3 separate regions of the Homo sapiens genome follow, and regions 2 and 3 are each linked to region 1. The links are contacts of gene promoters, found by promoter capture Hi-C in human tissues and cell types (Jung and others, 2019). All regions are on one chromosome and are shown on one strand. Each heading gives the region's core, a stretch centred on a gene start or on the middle of the fragment in contact. The rest is flanking DNA. Distances are from core to core; before and after follow the strand shown.

Region 1 (4,405 bases), core at 1,174-3,673:
GTGGCTCACACCTGTAATCCCAGCACTTTGGGAGGCCGAGGCAGGTGGATCACGAGGTCAGGAGATCAAGACCATCCTGGCTAACATGGTGAAACCCTGTCTCTACTAAAAATACAAAAAATTAGCCAGGCGTGGTGGCAGGCGCCTGTAGTCCCAGCTACTTGGGAGGTTGAGGCAGGAGAATGGCGTGAACCCAGGAGGCAGAACTTGCAGTAAGCCGAGATCGTGCCATTGCACTCCAGCCTGGGCAACAGAAAAAGACTCCATCTCAAAAAAAAAAAAAAAAAAAAAGGAAACAACCATATTTATTATTTTGCTTAATATTATGTTTGTAAGTTCCATTTATGTTATTTTTGGCTACAGATCATTTTCTTATTGCTATATAGTATTTCATTGTGTGACTACATGAAAATTTATTCATCCAGTTGATGGACATTTGGGTGGTTTCCAGTTTGGGATGATTCATTGATTTTGACATCATGAATATTTAGGTTGCTTCTGATACGTTTCTTTAATACTTTGCGAAGGCATCATTTTGCATGACTGCTTGTATAGATACATAAATGTTTCTCTTGGGTGGCCACAGGTTAAACAATGGTCTATCTGGATCATGAATGGAGAGAAAAGGAAACAACCAGAAAGCTCTCTCTCCCCACCTATTCTCTGTCCATGGCATCTGCCACTTTCTCTCACTCTGCCCCTACCACACTGTGACCTAACCAGCTTCTACCTTCTCCCAGGAGTTCCTCACAGATTTTGTCTTATAAACATTTTCTTGAAGTAAAACATACCTACAGAAAAGTGCATATGTTTTAAGTATGTAGTGCAAAGAATTTATGTGAATTGAGCATATGTAAGTAACCCAGATAGAGATGAAAAATTATTAGCATCTAGAAATGGAACAATGCATTAGAGGATATGTAATTCCAGCTTTACTAAATACTGCTGAATTGCTTTTCAAAAATTACCACATCAACTAACTCTCACCAGAAGTAAAGATGTACACCCGTTTCCCTTCAATCTTGTCAGCACTTGGGGATAGCCACACGCTAGCTTTCACTATAATAATAGGTAAACATTCTTACTGGTTTTAGTTATTTTCCTTAATTTTTAATATGGTTGAGCCTATCTTCATACTCATTTGTTAGTTGGAATATGCTGCACTTGTTTTGCTATTGAGTTGTTGTCCTGTTTTGAACCTTTCCTTAAGAGTCCACAGCTTATCCAGTTTTCTACACAACTCACTTCTGTTTGCTGCCCTTCATTATAGACTCAATGCCTTCTCATTGCTAGAGCACTGTGCCCTCCTTGGGGCTCGATGGTTTATAATAAAGCTTCCCCAGGAGATCTCATGGGGGCCAGGTTCTTTAGTGGTGGCCACTAAAGCTACTACCTCTTATTCCAGGTGCCATAAACCAGTGGCTGGACCTGGTTGGTTCACAGAGTGTTCTCAATGTGAGGAATCAGGTATTGTGCTTGGTTGTCATATAAGCAGCTTAGTTCCCATTGTTTTATACCTGGCCTGCTACCCTCATTCATGTTACCTTCATGCCCCATAGACATTTGAGATTTGATGCAAACCAGTCTGTTACAGTAAAAGCACCACTGTCTAGGAAGTTCTGGAGATGGGTTATCAGCTCATTTACATCAGCAGCTGCGGGATCTTGGGCAAGTCATTTCACCTATTGGAGCCACTCTCTGCTAGCATAAAGGAGAACATAAAGATACCTTCCCTGCCTATCTCACAAGGTTGTTTGGGAAACTGAATGAAAGAACGTGTAAATGTGCTTTGCAGGTTTTTTGTGAAACAGGAATAGCTGTTAGTATTCTCGCCTAGCCCTGTCTGTGGTGCCCAGGATGCTGCATTACCTCCTTTCTACCCTCGCCCTGAGTATTGGTCCTAGGTAGAAGCTGAGGTGAATATACTGAAAGCAGTAAGAATCTTCACCAGGCCCCTCCCAGTCATATCACAAGGTGTTGTAGCTTATTGACAAACACAGACCTCATGTTTCTCTGAGAACCGCCCTGTGAACACCTAGATAGAACTAAGGGTGTGAAATACAAACGTACTATTTGCCTACACTTACGGAAATAAGAGCACATGACACAGTAGATGGCAAGGTGAGGCTTTAAGTCAGAAAGCAACCTCAGCTGAAACAAATGCATAATTATAATTTGATTTCAGAAGTGGAAACATGACCCGAATTCATGCACCTACTGATTAGTCCAAATTCCTTTATTGTTGAAGCTGGAGCAGAAGTGGGGGTCCACCGTGGAAGTAAGGAAAAGCAAAACAGAACAGGGGTCTCATCCAGGGAGCCATGTCGATGGCTATGGGGAGCTCCACCTTGCTCTTGGGGTGGGGCCCTGGCCCTGGGTGGGACTGTGGGGTGATGAGGGTTGTGCTATGCTGGCTACCTGGTGGTAATTGCCAAGGAGAGAGCAGCACGTAGATCCTCCCTGTCATCAGGCAGAGCTCTTCAGTGAGGTGGGCTCAGGGAGGGCTCTGTGCCTCCGTTCAGCAGAGCTGCAGCTGCTGCCCAGCTCTCAGGAGGCAAGCTGGACTCCCTCACTCAGCTGCAGGAGCAAGGACAGTGAGGCTCAACCCCGCCTGAGCCATGCCAGCCAACTTCACAGAGGGCAGCTTCGATTCCAGTGGGACCGGGCAGACGCTGGATTCTTCCCCAGTGGCTTGCACTGAAACAGTGACTTTTACTGAAGTGGTGGAAGGAAAGGAATGGGGTTCCTTCTACTACTCCTTTAAGGTAAGTTTCTTGCCTGCGACTCTGAACACTGACTTATAACAATGAGACTGCTGGAACTTAAGAGTGTCAATTGAAGTATCATAGCCAGTATTGTGAATGAGTGTTATTTTCTTTACTAAAAAGGATTTTTAAAAGTCTGAAGTGCTAAAACAACAAGCTGTAGTGTGCAGAGACCTAGATTGTAGTTTCTTAGGAATACAGGTGACGTTTTTCTTTCTGATGCTGCTGGAAATGTGTGAATCGTGAGTAACATTTATGAGTGGATGATTTTTACTTTCCCCCTTTCCTTAGGTGAAAGCACTTTTAATTAATCCTATAGCAGTACTTGAAATGTCTGTTTCTAGTAGGGGTTAGAGCTATGAGTTTTTTGCTAGGAACACCAGAGATGCGGAAAGCTCACAATCCCCAGGACAGTGACTGATATGATGAGAAACAACATTGAATAAGGCAGGAAGGACGACACTTTCTTTGATGATCCTTTTCATTAAACATCAGTGAGGAATATATTTCTTTGAGGGTAGTTGATGATGCCACCATTTGCAACAAATTACCTCCTAGAACAAATGAAGGACAGAGAGTTTGGTGAGTTTCACCTTCAAAGTATCCAAGGGCCACACTGAGGAAGGATCTTCATTAAGCTAATACTGTATTGTTTCTTATTCCGCAACAAGATCTTGTGGACAGAAATGAACCGCACATTTGGGAAAAGAACAGTTTCCTGCTTCTTGCCTCAGAATGCTGGGTTGTCAGGTTATTTCACACCTGTCTAACGATATGTTTAGTCATTGCAATAATTCACAGGTCTCAAACTGGTCCTTTCCACTGAAGAAAAAATACTTCAAAAAGATTCTAGTTGTTGCTTTGTTGGGTTTTGTTGTTGTTGTTGTTGTTAATCCTCTGTATGTTCTTGAAATGATTTGGTTTTTACACAATGAGATAGCATTACTGTAACATCCACCTCCCTACTGGAAGTTCACTTCTTTTGCAAATATTCAGAATAAAACTTTCAGCAGGGTGCTGTCCCAGGAGTCAGACTTAAACTTCCAGGGCCCTAATGATCCTGCAGCAAAGCAGAACCTGAGCAAACTACTCCTCCACTGGCTTCAGTGAAACCCTGTCCCTTGGAATCACCTCCTAATGCATATGCACATACGCAGCCCAGCTGCACAGCTCCACGATGTAGCTTAGAAAGTAAAATTAGAGTTTGTTGCCACTTAATGTCGACTGAATAATCCCCTTTATGAAATCAGCCTGCAGACCCAGAGAGTCTGTCTTGGCAGGCTGTGTGCACCCAGGAAGCACAGGACTCCACTCAGTATTGCTGCCTGTGTAGCCTCTTTGATATTCTTAGAACATGATAGCAAGCAGAATGAAGAGAGGCCCTCCATTGCAAAGGGAATAAAATCAGCAATAAGGTGGTTATTCTGAGACTCTGGCAAGAATCAATCTCAGCTGAAATCTCATTTGCCATTTTTTGAATATAGCACCTACAGGGATATTTGGAATATGTGAAGAAACAAATCCCACCTTGCTCTCTATGAGTGTTTGTCCTCTCTATCCTAGCAACATCATCGCCAGACACTAAAGAGAATCACAGCATCTCTAGCTGATTCCTATTGATATGTTTGCAGCAAAACGGC
Region 2 (4,405 bases), core at 954-3,453, 50 kb after region 1:
ATTATAAACACCTGGCATTTCTTTATGAGCCTTTTTCTTCACTCCACAACAATAATGATTTAGATGGGTATAGAAATCTTGAATTCATAACTCAAATCTCCATAGATGTTGCTCCATTTAATTCTGGTATTTTGTGTTACCAAAAAAAAATCTAAAGTCAGTCCAAGATTTCTTTCTTGATAGGTTATCCAATTTTGTCTTTTGTTTCTGATTTTTTTTTTTTTAGATTTCATGCTTTCACCAGGTTATGTCTATTTTTTGGTCGTCTGTTATGTGAGTTCTCTGAGCTGCCATATGCTCTTTTGATCTGCTGATTAATGTGAATTCGTAGGTTATTTTCTTTATGTCTTTGAATACAGATTACTTACCATTTATTTTAATCTTATCTTCAGGAACTCTAACTGTCTGTCTATATGTTAGTAATTTTGGCCTTTCTGTCATCATTTAAATATCTTGGTCCTATTCTTCTACGTGGGAAGAATAATTTATACTTTATTAATCAATAATTTGATTTTGATTCAATGATTAGCAGTGCTAATTCTACTTTTTATTGTTTCTGAAGTATCTTAAAGGTTGCTTTGTCTATGAAAAGTTTTAAAACATTCTTCCTTTGTATTATCTGGTGCCTTTTTATTTCTGTCAGCTTCTTGGTGTTTCCCTTCTCACAACCTATCTAATGTCTTATTATCTCGTCTTTCACCTTTAATTCCATACTGTCAAAGTGTCCCCAAAATGTAAAAAGAATGCAAAATATGCGCTAAAATTTCAGGGTTTCTTGAGCTAAAGTTTTTTTGAATATATATTCTTTTTCTGATATTTTTGTGCTCTTTTTAACTCAATGCTAGGAAATCTCTCTCTGTCTCATATGTTTCACCCATCTACTGAAAGTTTTTTAATTGGCTAACATCTGAATAAATGCACATATCTTTTATTTGGATTATTCCTACACTAGCTGCACAATGCCATCATTGTTTCCTCCACCAAGAAGAGCTGGGTGGGCCATGTTCATTGAGAAAATCAGTTTCTCTCAAACAGGAGAAAAAATGGCATTGTCCTATCGCTATGTGAATAATTCAACTAAAAAGAATAACTGTTCTCCCAGTAAAGCTTTTTCTTTCTTAGAAAAATTGGGTTTCTTTATATTCCATGCCTTTGCTTCAGAGCACAATATGTGACCTGGGAAAGGCATTTACCCTTGTTAAACCTTCATTTTCTCATTTCTAAAATTACAAGGGTTATCTCCATGATCTTTAGGAAGCCAGAACTGATCTGGTTCTAATGGTCCTTTGATTCTAATTAGAAATTTCCAACTGCAAAAGTTGAGGGGGATTCTTACATCTTCAGAAGCCAACTAATTAAACAACTTTTGCTGTAATGAGTGTCAGTCACCTTTATGAATCAGCTTGTCACTTAATAATAGAAATAGCTGGCTTCTGGCCCATGCAGAAGGAATGTAGAAAATAGACTATAGTAACAAGCTGACTCCCATTCTCCTGTTGTTCCCTGCCTCACTCAGTTTCCACAGTCAACTTAGGACAATTCCATACTGTGATTATTTACTCCTGCTTTGCTTTCGTAATTCAACAAACAGTATTAACCACTTACTATGGCGAGGCATGGTTCCAGGTGCTAAGGACCCACAGTGGATTTGATTACAAATTACAGGTAAAATAATAAAGCAATAAAAAGGATAATTTTGCTTTCATCATCGAAAGCTCAGTGATAGAGTAAGCTTTAGACTTTATTTGCCTCAGCAATGCAGCAGTGGTAGAGGGCAGAGGAGAAGTCTCATCCTAAGCCTTGCTCCCAAGGCTGGTTATAGGATGCTGTATTAGTTTGCTGGGACTGCCGTAACAAATACCAAAGATTGGGCAGCTTAAACAACAGAAATTTACTTTCTCACAGTTCTAGAAGCTAGAAGTCCTCTATCAAAGTGTTGGCTAATTTTATTTTGAGGCCTTTCTCATTGGATTGTAGATGGCTGTCTTCTCCGTTTTTTTCACATGGCTTTTTTTCTGTCCATGTCTGTATCCTAATCTTCTCTTCTTATGAGGACACCACCAGTTATACTGGATTAGGGCCCACCCAGAATTACCTCATCTTTTTTTCTTCATTATCTCTTTAAAGTCCCTATCTCTAAGCATGTCACATTGTGAAGGACTGGAGGTTAGGACTTTAACATATGAATTTAGGGGAGATGCAATTCAGCCCATAACAAATGCCTGCTAGTAACTCATGGGAACTCTCTTCCACATGCAAAGAGATAAAATGTGATTTCTGCAAGTTTTATTAGAAATATAGGAAGGAACCCTTCCCAGCAGGGCTTGACAAGCCTGTGCATGTGCCTCACTGACATAACTAAGTTATAGGGTCATATTTGAACTAATCCATGGAACAAGACATGCAATTACACTGATGAGCTTAGGCTGAAGTCAAATGTCTCACTCCTGAAAATTCAGACTTCCCCAAAACACATGGGCTGAACAGGTAAGATGGATACTTCAACTGAAAGCCAGGGTACTTAACAAAAGCAGGAGAAATAGATGCTGGGGAGGTAATCCCAACGTCCAGTGCAAATGCTATGAGGGAAAACGACAGAGTCCCAAACATGCTGGAGCTTATAGTTAGAGGAAGGAAAAATTAGATTTTTCTCAGGGCTTTGGGATTGGGGCACCTGGCAGTCAGCGCCTAGATTCCAAAGCAGGTCAGAAGATGCCTCTGCCCAAGTATTGGAAACCTTTTGAATATCTTTGAGTATTAAAAACATTTTAACACTGCCTGAGAAAAGTAGTAGTTATGAAGTTATACATTTAGCCTATCCCATTCAACTCAGGGGATTGTACACAGATCAAATAAATTGCAATTGTGTTTCCCTCCCTGATATTCACATAGGAAGGTGAGTGGTGAGCAGTAAACTTCAGGACCTTTAAAGTTATCATTGCTTTCACCCTTGCACCAGCTTTTTGAGGTAAATATTCCCATTTTCTAGGAGAGGATAATGAGGCTCAGAGAGGGTAAGTGGCCTCCCCAGGGTCTTCTAGCTGAATTGTAACCAGCTTGATCTTCCTTTTGAATTCCACCATCTTGCCTGTGAGGGAAAAAGGAATAAGGAGCCAGGAGTTGCAGGGTCATTCTTCTCCTCAAGAGGCTTGAGAGTAACTAAGTATCTGTTCAAAACACTTTTGAGAATTTGGCGGCCTCATTACGTTTCTCAGGAGTCCCTGGGGGAGGTTACACTTTTAGGATCCCCAGGAATAGAGTGACAAAATACAGCTACCACAACTTGGTCCTGTGCAACTGTGCCCTTGCTCAGCAATTACTGACTCCATTCTGACTGAACTCTGCCAAAAACTCTTAACATTAATAATTATTACCTGTTCTCAATTTTAATAATTAAGAGTTTTACAACTTCCAGTGACTCTTAATTCAGGTTTCTTTGGCTTACTGTTCTTGGACAATAACAGTATGGTCACTGTTGCACAGACAGAAGCTAGACATAGTCTGTATAGCTAACTCCCTCATGTCCTTCAAATCTTTCTTCAAATGTCAGTTTCTTTTGGGGCCTTCTGTGACCAACCTGATGAATAGAGCCCACCAGCCCCAGACCACAGCGTTCCTGACTTCCTTTACTCTGCTTCACTTTTCCCTTTTTCACAGCAATTGTCACATTCTATTCTACTATAACTTACTTATTTATTGAATTTACCACTGATTGTTTGCCTAACCTCACTATAAGACAGGGATCTTTGTTTTATTCTCCAAGAACTTAGAACAGTAGTTATTCAATTAATATTTGTTGAAGCAATGAATGAACCAAATGAATGAATGAAAGATGAATATAAAAATATTTATATGTCCTAACACTCTACTAAGCATTATGACAGAATATCCACCAAAAAAAAAAGATGAGAAGGAGAAACCATTATTCTTCTGTAGCAGGGCTAACAGAACATGAGCAGATGGCAAACGTGAGATTATCAGCACCTTCTGGGCTAGTTCCTGGAAATCAGCTGATTTCCTGCTGCTTCCAAAAATTCTTAAAGCTTTCAGACTCCTGAGCAAGCTCCTGCAAAACACCTATTTTGGTGCTGCAAGCACCTGCAGTAGCTCTCTAGTCATTCAGGTACTTGTTGACCTTAGGAACTCAAGCCATAGCTTCCACGATTTTCAATCCCTGATCCCTCTTCAGTCTCAAATTGCTGTATCCAAAACCCTTCCTACTTGCAATATATTAGAAAGGCCACCTTCTGACCAAATCTGAAAAGTTGGGTAGGTTTGTAGAGGATGAGTTTTTGGATTATTCCCAATTCTTTTGATCCTCACCCCAACCTCCTAAGACTAAAGCTACAGTGGCCTCCCTTTAGGGAAGAAAGCAGAGGAAAGGAGCAGAGGAATTATTTTCTGT
Region 3 (4,405 bases), core at 1,040-3,539, 43 kb before region 1:
GTCACCTGGGAGTTCTGACACAGTATGAAGAAAACTCTGAAAGAGAGACATCCAATGTTGTGCTATAGGTGGTGGAGGCTTGAAAAATTAATTGGAAATAGATGTGAACCCATTTGCATGGACTTCAATAATGAAAATCACGAGCATCAGATGGTAGCTTCTGCCTGATGCTTCACAGACTCTGTACAAGCTGCGTAATGGGAGATAAAGGTGAAGTTGTCCAGGGAGTAAATATTAGGGTAGACTCAAACTTGTAAGTTATCTCAGGAAGCGAGCATTCTCAGCATGTGGAATAGAAGGCCTGGCACTTACTACAGAGTGCTCCCACTACCACTTAAAGAAGGTGAAAACAGCTCCAGACAACTTCTGTCTGTACCCACATGCATGGGAAAGAAGCCAAGGAATGTGCTTTGTAGCCTGCAAATGCATTCCACTGAAATGCCTTCCTACACTTTACAGCCAACCAACCTTTTCCTCATGGAATAAAACAGACCCAGCATGAAGATTGCCTTTCCCTTTTGTCTAGGACAACATATTTGAACAGCTACCCATCCCCACCCAAGGCCCCATGACAGGCAGCTGTGCACATTTCGGGAGCAGCATGTATACAACTTGCAGGAACCAAAGTGGAAAATAGGGACCAAATCCTCCAAATACCTAAAATCTGTATTTGGATTGCTAATTGCTGCTTCTGACCACAGAGGTACAGACAAAGATATGAGTGGCCATTTCCCCATTGTTGCAAACCCCTCTTTCTCTAGCTAGAGTGACTTTCACAGGATTTAAAAGACCAGTACCCTCTCATCCCTTTCTTTATTTTTCTTTTTCCAACTTTTGGAGCCAGACATGAAACACTAAGATACTGAGAAACAACTACATATACAGGGAAAATTGGAAAGGGATCATGCATGTTTAGAGAAAACTGCAGACTCAGAAAGGCCTGAAAATATTTTAAGTTTACACCTCAAGCTAATCATTGGCACAAATACAGTCAATGACAACCCAAAAAGCAAAACAATGAACAACTTTTTAAAAAGCAAACCCTGAGGAAGAGGGAGAATCTGATTTGCTATTAGATAATTTATGAGGTTACAATAATTAGATAAATTATTAGATTCAAATACCCACTTTTCAACAATAAATTACATGGCATACAAAGAAACAGGAAATATGGCACATGCCAAAGAAGCAGAAACTGTCCCTAAAAATGACATGATGACAAATCTACCAGACAAAGGCTTTAACAAAAATGTCTTAAAGATTCTCAAATAACTGAAGGAAGATGTGGAGAAAGTCAAGAAAACAAGGTATGAATAAGTTCAAATATTAATAAAGACAAAACTTAAAAAGAAAACAAAGAGAAATTCTGAAGCTTAAAGGTATAATAACTAAAATGAAAAATCTACTACAGAGACTCAAATGCAGATTTGAGCAGGTAGAAGAAAGAATCAGAGGACTTGAAGATAGGACAATAAAAATTATTGAGTATGAGAAACAAAAGGATTAAAGAAAAATGAACAGAGCCTAGGGTCCTCTGGGATATCATCAAGTGGACCAATATATGCATTGTAGGGGTCCCATAAGAACAAGAAAGGAACAGAGAGAATATTTGCAAAAATAATGACTGAAAACTTCCCCAAAGTGAATAAAGACATAAATAAAAACATTCAAGAAGCTCAACAAACACCAAGTAAGATGAACTAAAAAAATATTCACACTGAGACACATTGTAATCAAACTTTCAAAATACAAAGACAAAGAAAGAATCCTAAAAGCAGCAAGGGAGAAGTAGCTGGTTACATATAAAGGATCCTCAATAATATTATCAGCATATTTGTCATCAGAAACTTTGGTAAACAGAAGACAGTCAGCCAATATATTCAAAGTACTAAAAAACAAACAAACAAACAAACAAAAAAGCTGTCAACCGAGAATCCTGTATCTGGCAAAACTGTCCTTCAAAAGTGAAGCAGAAATTAAGGCATTCCCAGATAAGCAAAACTGAGGGAGTTTGTCACCAGTAGAAATGTTCTGCAAGTAGTGCTTAAGGGAGTCCTGCAAGGTGAAATGAAATGACATCAGACAAAACTGAAAGCTAGATGAAGAAGTAAAGATAGTAATAAAGGTAAATGCATAGGCAATTATAATAGCTAGTATTTTTGTTTATTTTGATTAAGACATTTATGTCAAGGGATAAGTGTGCAATAATGCAGATATGGTTCATTTTTCTAAACAGAAAGTTAGAACAGGTTATACAAATATCACATAGTTTTACTGGAGAACTTTCGAGGTCATTAAAGGTTTTGAGAGTTATGGCAGATACATAGCAAATAATAGTAAAGAGCAAAGAGTATGAGAAAATCAGTAGTCAGCAACATGTTAGCAGTCAGTCATTGATGCTTATACAGGCCCATAGAGTCCAAACAAAGAATCTGGATTTCTGAACATTATACCTTTATGTCTTCTCAAGAGAAACCACAAATCTTCTTTTTAAAATTCTGCATATATGTGCAGTATTTCATAGAGAGCATTGGAACAGAAAAGTCAAGCATCCAAAACCTTTAAGCAGCATAAAAAAATAGCAAAATGACAGAAATAAGTCCCTCCTTATTAGTAATTACTTTAAATGTAAATGGATTAAGCTTTCCATATAAAAAACAGAGATTGACAGAATGGATTATTTTTAAAGAAACACATGATCTAACTATATGCTGTCTACAAGAGATACTTTACATCCAAAGACACAAATAAGTTGAAAGTGAAAGGATCAAATATTATATTTCATGCAAATAGTAACCAAAAGAGAGAAGAGGTGGTTATACTAATATCAGACAAAATAGACTTTAAATTTAAAAAGATTATGAGAGACAAAGAAGGACATTATCAAAGACTTAATATGGCAATATAGCAAGAATATATAATAATTATAAACCTATACACACCTAATGACAGACTGTAGCATAGAAATATATAAAGCAAAAGAATTGAAGGGAAAAGTAGACAGTTCTACCATAATAGTTGGAGATTTCACTACTGTACTCTCAAAAACTGATAGAACAATCAGATGAAAGATAAGTGAGAAAACAGAGGATGTAAACAACACAATAAACCAATTAGTTTTAACAGACAAATACAGAACACTACCCAAGGAAAAAAAAAAAATACACATTCTTCTCAAGTGCATATAGGACATTTATATGTTAGGTCACAGATAAAATCACAGTAGATTTGAAAAGACAGACATGATACTAAGTATCTTCTCTGATGACAATGGGATGAAGTCAGAAATTATTAATATAATTAAAACTGGAAAATGCACAAATTTGTGGAAATTAAACAGCACACTCTTAATCAACCATGAATCAAAGCATCAATTACAAAGGAAATTAGAAGATATTTAGAGACGAATGAAAATGAAAACATAACATGCCAAAAATGCATGGAACATAGTGAAAACCACGCTAAGGGCAATATTTAAAGTTATACATGCCCACACTAAAAAATAAGAATGATCTCAAATCACCAACCAAACTTTATGACTTAAAAAATGGAAAAAGGAGAACAAATTAAACAAAAGCTAGTAGAAGGAAAGACAAAATAAATATTAGAACAGAGATAAATGAAATAGAGAAAAGGAAAATAACAGGGAAAATCAATTAAACCAAAAGTTGGTTATTCAAAAAGATCAACAAAATTAAAAAATCATTAGCTGAATGGACTAAGAAAAGACTCAAATTTCTAAAATGAGAAATGGAAATGGGACATTACTATTGATTTTACAGAAATAAAAAGGATTGTAATGTAGTACTATGAAAAATTCTATACCAACAAATTGTATAACCTAATGAAATAGACAAATTCCTAGAAACATAAACCATACCAAGATAAATCATGAAGAAATGGAAAATCTAAATAGACTTATAACTACTAAGAAGATTTGGTGAATGTGACCAAACATTTAAAGAAGAACTAATACCATCCTTCTCAAACTTTTCTGAAAAGTAAGGAGAGAACACTTCCTAAATTATTCTGTGAGATTAGCATTACCCCGATGCTATAGCCAGACAAAGACACTACTAGACAGAAAAGAAAACTACATTCAATATCTGTTCCAGATGTTGTTGCAAAAACCCTCATTGAAATACTAGCAGCCAATACTAGGCAAAGTGACCTAGAGATTCAATGCAATCCCTGTTAAAATCTCAATGACATTTTTCACAGTATTACAAAACTCCATCCTAAAACTTACCAGACATCTCAAGTAATCTCAAATAACCAAAACAATCTTGAAAAAAAAAAAAAAACAGCTGATTTCAAAACTTACTACAAATCTACAATAATTAAAACAGTGTGGTACTGGCAAACAAACAGACATATATATAGACCAATGGAATAGAAGATAGAG

The links. The method cuts DNA at HindIII sites, captures the fragments that hold promoters and counts their contacts. A contact is called where the count stands out against the background at its distance.
Region 2: a fragment that was not itself captured here is called in contact with the fragment with the promoter of NPSR1 in region 1 in 4 of the 25 tissues and cell types used here (adrenal gland, aorta, liver and 1 more).
Region 3: a fragment that was not itself captured here is called in contact with the fragment with the promoter of NPSR1 in region 1 in 2 of the 25 tissues and cell types used here (small bowel and stomach).

What each region holds. Positions count from the first base shown.
Region 1 is chr7:34,655,795-34,660,199 of GRCh38, forward strand. It overlaps NPSR1 (neuropeptide S receptor 1), which reads left to right and starts at 2,424. Exons shown (of 9, transcript NM_207172.2): 1 at 2,424-2,765. The coding sequence starts at 2,619. The region is part of intron 2 of NPSR1-AS1 (NPSR1 antisense RNA 1); the gene reads right to left. The HindIII fragment of the contact is 11,658 bases long and covers 30-4,405 here.
Region 2 is chr7:34,705,964-34,710,368 of GRCh38, forward strand. All of the region lies in intron 2 of NPSR1 (neuropeptide S receptor 1), which reads left to right. The region is part of intron 2 of NPSR1-AS1 (NPSR1 antisense RNA 1); the gene reads right to left. Among named protein-coding and RNA genes, the nearest start is that of NPSR1, 50 kb to the left of the region's middle. The HindIII fragment of the contact is 4,572 bases long and covers 1-4,405 here.
Region 3 is chr7:34,612,478-34,616,882 of GRCh38, forward strand. The region is part of intron 2 of NPSR1-AS1 (NPSR1 antisense RNA 1); the gene reads right to left. Among named protein-coding and RNA genes, the nearest start is that of NPSR1, 44 kb to the right of the region's middle. The HindIII fragment of the contact is 3,781 bases long and covers 400-4,180 here.